Regions from separate parts of the Homo sapiens genome. Here region 1 is linked to region 2. Evidence: promoter capture Hi-C in 16 types of primary human blood cells and fetal thymus (Javierre and others, 2016). All regions are on one chromosome and are shown on one strand. The core of a region is centred on a gene start or on the middle of the fragment in contact, and the rest is flanking DNA. Distances in the headings are between cores, read along the strand shown. Region 1 has its middle 17 kb from the start of ZNF331. Region 2 holds the start of LENG1 (leukocyte receptor cluster member 1).

The links. The method cuts DNA at HindIII sites, captures the fragments that hold promoters and counts their contacts. A CHiCAGO score of 5 or more calls a contact.
Region 1: a contact is called between a fragment that was not itself captured here and the fragment with the promoter of LENG1 in region 2, in 2 of 17 cell types (fetal thymus and naive CD4 T cells). The highest score is 8.8, in fetal thymus.

What each region holds. Positions count from the first base shown.
Region 1 is chr19:53,519,514-53,522,457 of GRCh38, forward strand. It overlaps a transcript of ZNF331 not described here. Among named protein-coding and RNA genes, the nearest start is that of ZNF331, 17 kb to the right of the region's middle. RefSeq lists enhancers at 211-985, 986-1,759, 1,250-1,449, 1,760-2,533. The HindIII fragment of the contact is 293 bases long and covers 1,472-1,764 here.
Region 2 is chr19:54,158,276-54,161,143 of GRCh38, forward strand. It overlaps LENG1 (leukocyte receptor cluster member 1), which reads right to left and starts at 1,446. Exons shown (of 4, transcript NM_024316.3): 1 at 1,289-1,446; 2 at 7-186. The coding sequence starts at 1,420. TMC4 (transmembrane channel like 4) reads right to left here. Exons shown (of 15, transcript NM_144686.4): 12 at 2,855-2,868; 13 at 2,603-2,758; 14 at 2,192-2,270; 15 at 1,833-2,099. The coding sequence ends at 2,031. RefSeq lists an enhancer at 779-1,448. The HindIII fragment of the contact is 1,716 bases long and covers 1,025-2,740 here.

The DNA.
Region 1 (2,944 bases), core at 368-2,867, 640 kb before region 2:
CTTGGCAAAGGTCCAAGGAACATCCTGATGAGATCCCACCGGAAAAAGGGCCAAACCGCCTGATCATAAGAACATCTTGTCAATATCCTGCCGGGCAGCAAGCCATACAGCCCAGGCCTCTCCCGCCCATACCAAGGTAACACTCACAGAGACATCTGAAGAGCCAGGCAGTGCTCCCAAGTCTGGGACAGCATCAGAGAACGAAACGCAAAGTCCTGCCCTTACAGAGAGAGCCTTGGCACAGACCCAGTCAGGACCAGGTCACTCCCGTGGAACCTACTCAAGGTCCCTACACACATGCCTGGAGCTCCCCAATCTACTGGGGGGTGGGGGAAAGGGCAGTGCTGAAACGTCCCCAAAATCTCACATGTAAACACCCTACCTAACACTTTCTAGAGGCATTTCCAGCTCGGGGCTGTATTTCCAAGAACGCTCTGGAGGCACAGCTCTTTTCTAAGGAGGGCCATGTTGCATGCTGGGAAATTTTTGAACTTTTCCCAAATCACAGCTTTTAAGCTTTCCGGGCTTATTATTATTATTATTATTATTTTGAGACATTGTTTCACTCTTATCGCCCAGGCTGGAGTGCAGTGGTGTGATCTCGGCTCACTGCAACCTCTGCCTCCTGGGTTCAAGCGATTCTCTTCCCTCAGCCTCCCAAGTAGCTGGGATTACAGGCACACACCACCACGCCTGGCTAATTTTTGCATTTTTAGAGCGATGGGGTTTCACCATGTTGGGCAGGAGGGTCTCGAACTCCTGATCTCAGGTGATATACCCGCCTCGGCCTCCCAAAGTGCTGAGATTACAGGCGTGATTTCTGGTCGTTTCAGACTACATTTCCTTCCCAGAAGGACGCGGGGACACGCCTTCCCTATGGACGGATCCCAAATGCAAGTTGTAAGCAATTATAACTGTAGGCCCCTAGAGCCTGAACCACTTTTCCCAGGAATTTTTTGTGGTGCGCCTTAGGAGCAAGCAAAGTTTCAGGGCAGGAGAAGGCCGACAGGGCTTCCAGCATTTGAAGATTCTGCCAGTCTGAAATACGCTTTCCCAGAAGTCTATGGGGGGTGCAGCTGCTCTAACAGTGGGAGGAGACACCGACGAAAAGCATTCTGACGGCCGCGCTTCCAGCGCTAAGGATTCCCGCGTAGTGAGCATTTCCCAGAGGTCTCTGGGGCATGGCTCCATTAGGGCCGTGTGCAGTTGCCTGCAGGGAAACACTGATGGGCGCCCTTCCAGATACGTCGATTCCCGGGTTATGAGCTACATTTCCCAGAAGCCCTCAAGGCAGGACGCCCTTAGGGTCGCGTAGAGTTGCATGCTGGGAAATCCTGACAGCCGCTTCCAACTCTGTGGATTTCCGGGTTATGGACTACATTTCCCAGAGGCCTCTGGGTCACGGCTCCATTTGCGCCGTGTAGAGTTGCATGCTGGGAAACACTGACGGGCGCCCTTCCAGCTGCGTCGAAGCTTCTCTGGTTTCGCATTACATTTCCCAGAGGGCCTTGGGGCACAGTCCAATGAGGAGCGAGCCGGGTGGCCGGCTGAGGGGCGTGCTTCATGCTCGCGGGATTTTTAAAAATGGTTTCTCCTGGATCTTATCCCAACTGCGCCTGAGACCTTGTTTCACCTCCTGATGTGCTGGGTGTGGTTAGGCCTCGAGCCGGGAGCTATTTGCCTCCCAGGAGGAAGCCAGGGCAGGGTTCCGCGGGGAATGGCGGTGAGGGAGCCACTCGGGACGCGGAGGCCCTAAAATGAAGAAGCTTCGGCCTGAGGCTTCGGGAGCGGCGAGCAGGGAAGTGGGAGTGTGTGTGAGTGTGTGTGTGTGTGTGTGTGTGTGTGTGTGAATAAGCCAGAGGCTGCCTGGTGGGGCCCCGCCGTGGCCCAGTGACTGAGATAATTGTCTTCGTCTGTGGGGTAATGCGAACAAGCCCCGTTCCCCTAAGCCGTGATGCATGCGGGGTTGACGCGGCCGGGCTCTGTCCCCATAAACTGTGACACAGGTGTGTGTAGACGTCTATGAGGGCCATAGCGCCGGGCTGTAAGGGCATCTGTAGGGGTGACGCAGCCGGGCTGTGTCTCTGCACCTCCGTTCTGTGCGAGGTCAATGCTGGTGGGGTCTGCAGAGGTGGCACGGCCAGGACGGGTCTCCGTGTCTCTGAAATGTGCCTTTGCACTTCTGTCAGGTTGACAGGGACAGGCAGTGTCCCTCTGGTGTGAGCGTCTGTGGGTGTGAAAGGGCCAGCGAGTGTGCGGCTGTGACTGGTCGGGATCGGGCCTGGGTGCATGGCCTTTTGAGTGAGCACAGGTGTGTGCGACCATGTCACCTGTCTTTCTAGTGTCTCCGTTGCTTCCTGTGCCTTGGCCTTCCAGCCATGTGGTACCTGCTAGGGAGCAGTGGTCCCAAAGTGACGTGAGAGGCTCTACGCTATTGTGAAAATGACCAAGAAGAAGGCTTCACAAGTCACGAGATGGCAGTTTTGGAGCCAGAAGTGCTCTCCGTGCACACTACCTGGACGACAAGAGGAAGTAACCTCAAGAATAGAATTCCTTTTGGGGAAGAAAGAGGTACCTGACATGGGAGGCGGGGAGGTGGTGAGAGGGGCAGCTCCATGTTTCAGAACCCCAGTTCCTAGAGTTTTCCAGCATTTCTCTGAAAAACTCACATGCCTGTGCCCTCTTATTTCTGATTGATTTTAACTGTGGTCTGGGGACAAGTGTGCCCTATTTTCTTTCTTTGTTTTTTTTTTTTTTGAGACAGAGTCTTGCTCTGTCGCCCAGGGCTGGAGTGCAGTGGTGCGATCTCGGTTCCCAGGTTCAAGCGATTCTCCTGCCTCAGCCTCCCAAGTAGCTGGGACCACAGGCGCACGCCACCATGCCCAGCTAATTTTTGTATTTTTAGTAGAGACGGGATTTCACCATGTTGGCATAGGTGATCTCG
Region 2 (2,868 bases), core at 196-2,695:
GCTTACTTTCTCCTGTCGCTTTTCTTCCTTGTACTCTTTATTGCCTCTGATCACTCCTTTCCCTTCCTCCAGCAGCTCCCGAAACAGGTCCACAGGGCCAGAACCTGGGGCTCCCGCCTCTGCTGCTTCAAGCTCAGGCAGTGAGTTCTGATGTCTGGCTTTCTTCCGTAGGAATTCTGTACGGGCCTGGGGAGAAAGTTATAGGCAGGACATTCAGAACCTAGAGGTAATTCAAGAACTGTGAGTCTGGTGCCCACCACAGAAAATGGCAGTCCAGGGTGCTGGGGTTATGAGAAAGGGAGCACTAGGCGCCTAAAAGAGGCACCTGTCCTAGCTGGGGGTGAGGGTAGGCAGATGAGGCAACGCCTGGGTTTTGTAAACTCCCTTTCAAATAGTAAACCACGGGTCATCAAGGATGTATGGGAGGAGGTCCCTGGCCTAAACCAAAGGGGTTCCTAACCTCAAGTGAGACAATTAAAACAGCCATAAAGGTATGCATTAGGCCAGACGATCTGAATTCTAGCCATGGCTCCAAGTGACTACCCCAAGTCTGCTGAAGCCCTGTCCCCTGCCTTCAGGACGCGGATTTCAAACAGCGCTCAGCAGCCTACTGAGATTCTAAAAACCTAGACTACCTCCCACCCACGGCGGAGGATCAGACTAGCTAAGGAAATGAAAGTTGGGTGTACACCAAACAGATTTAAAGAGCCATACGGAAAGCCCGTGTTTGTGTGTATGTGTCTAGGGGGCGGTGCACGAAAGGGCTCGCCCGATGGCGTGGAGCCTGGCTGTCCGCCTCTCCTTAAAATGTGCCTTCCCCTCACTGAAGCCATCTCACTTCGTGCAACAGAGATGACAGTGCCCCTCTAAGAACGAACAGTGCTTATTGGGGATTCCGCAAGTCAGGTGCACGGCATGTAGTTAGCATACAGTAGATGCTCAATAAATAGGCTGTGCAGGCAAACTAAAAAGTGATCCGAATTTCCTTGAACTGTCCAAGGGTTCACGGATTCATTAAATGTTAAGCTTCTCTTTTGTGCTAGACACTGTTCCAGCCATGTGAAATACATCAGTGGGGGAAAAACTAAGACGAGGGCGAGATCAAGGAAGGTTTCGTGGAAGTGGGCACAAGGTTTGCGGGGCAACGTCCTCGAAAGTGGGATCGGCGCCTGGTCCCGAATTTCACACGGGGCACATTGAGCCTGCGCAACGCCTCCGCTTCCGGCCCCCAACCGCGGCGCCTGCGCGCTGGGCCCCGGAGCGCCGCCCTGCCGGCTTCCGAGCTTACCTCTTGCTGAGCCAGCAGCACCCTCCGCTCACGCTCCTTCTCCTCCTCCCGGGCCTGGGCCTCGTCACGCCGCACGCGGGCGACATTGTCCTTGTTCCGGACGTGCCAGCTCTTCTTGGGCAAGATATTCATGGCGTCGTAGCTGTCCAGGGACTGGCACGCCCGCCTCTTTGCACTTCCGATTGGCGAGAGGATGCCCCCCTTTTTCTTGTCCCTACTTCGACCGCGGATTGGTTCCGAATTAGTTGGTACGGCCCCCTGGCCTGTAGCGACAGGTGATTGGCTGAGACGCCCTTTATCACAGCGAATGCTAGGCGTTCGGCTCGTGGTATCCCCTAGCAACCGCCTCTTGTCACAGATCTGAACCAATCATAAGTTGGCCCGCCCCTGATGCTACCAGATGCGGCCGTCGATTGGCCGACATGACCGACAAGTCTCCTTGCGGAAGAGCGCTCTGCACCGACAAACATGCCCGTACATTTGATTGGCTCCTGCCCCGCTGTAGCCCTGCCCCCACCTTCAGGACGCAGATTTCAAAGCGCGCTCAGCAACCTCGGCTGTATTTATTGATACAAGGAAGATCACCCGAGAGTCAGGGACGTGGCGGCGAGGGGCCCTGGAAATCTCCAGATACCAAAGCTGGAAGGGCGTGGAGTCTTCTCCAGTTCTCCTAGTTTACAGATGTTGTGACCTAGGCTTACAATGGGCCTGGGGTCTGAAAGCGGGACGTGGGCTGCGGGGGTCAAAGAGCCGGTTTGGTGGAGGTCAGCGCCACAGCGCGCCGTGCCAGGAAGACTTTATTCTGCGCCTCCTGGGGCAAAGAGAGGTGGAGGTGAGACAATCCTCTTCCCCAACCCCTTTCCATGTTCCCCAGGGGCCCTCTCAGGGACCCGCCTGGCTCACCGTCTCTCTCTGACGTTTGAGCTCAGAGATGAGGCGTCCGTAGGAGTTAGCCAGAGCCACAGTGTACGCCATCAGGATGCTGAAGGAGACAGGAACGGAAGCCACTCCTGACACGCTCTTCCATTATATCCAAACGTCTGGCTCCTTCGAAGCCAGGGATGTGGACGCCTAAGCCCCTCCTCGTCTGGGCTCAAGGAGTTCAGTCTCCCAGCCCCTCCGCCTTCAGATCCAGGAGTCCTACGTCCCGCCCACCTCCTCCTTCGGACCCAGCAGTCCAGGAGCCTAGGCCTCCTCCCTCAGACTCAGTACGTTGCCTGCTCCCACGCCCAAGCCTCTCCTCTCTTGGACGCAGGTGGTGGCCCCCAGATCACACGCATTCAAACCCAGACCCAGAAGTCTGGGCCGTCTCACCTGGAGATCAGCAGAAGGGGCACAGCAAAAGCCTGGGTCCCCAGGAAGAAGAGGAAATTCTGGGTGGTCTCAGGGAGGCTGGAAATAGACTCAGGGATCTGGGCCCAGATGGACGACTGCCCCCGGAATGGACCACACAGCTTAGAAGGCGGGATCCTGAAGTCAAGACAGGCTGGGCTCACATAGTGCCAGGAGTCTGAACACTGAATGGGGAGAGAGGGAGGGAGAGAGGCGGGAGCCTCTCGCACTTACAGGAAGATGCTGTA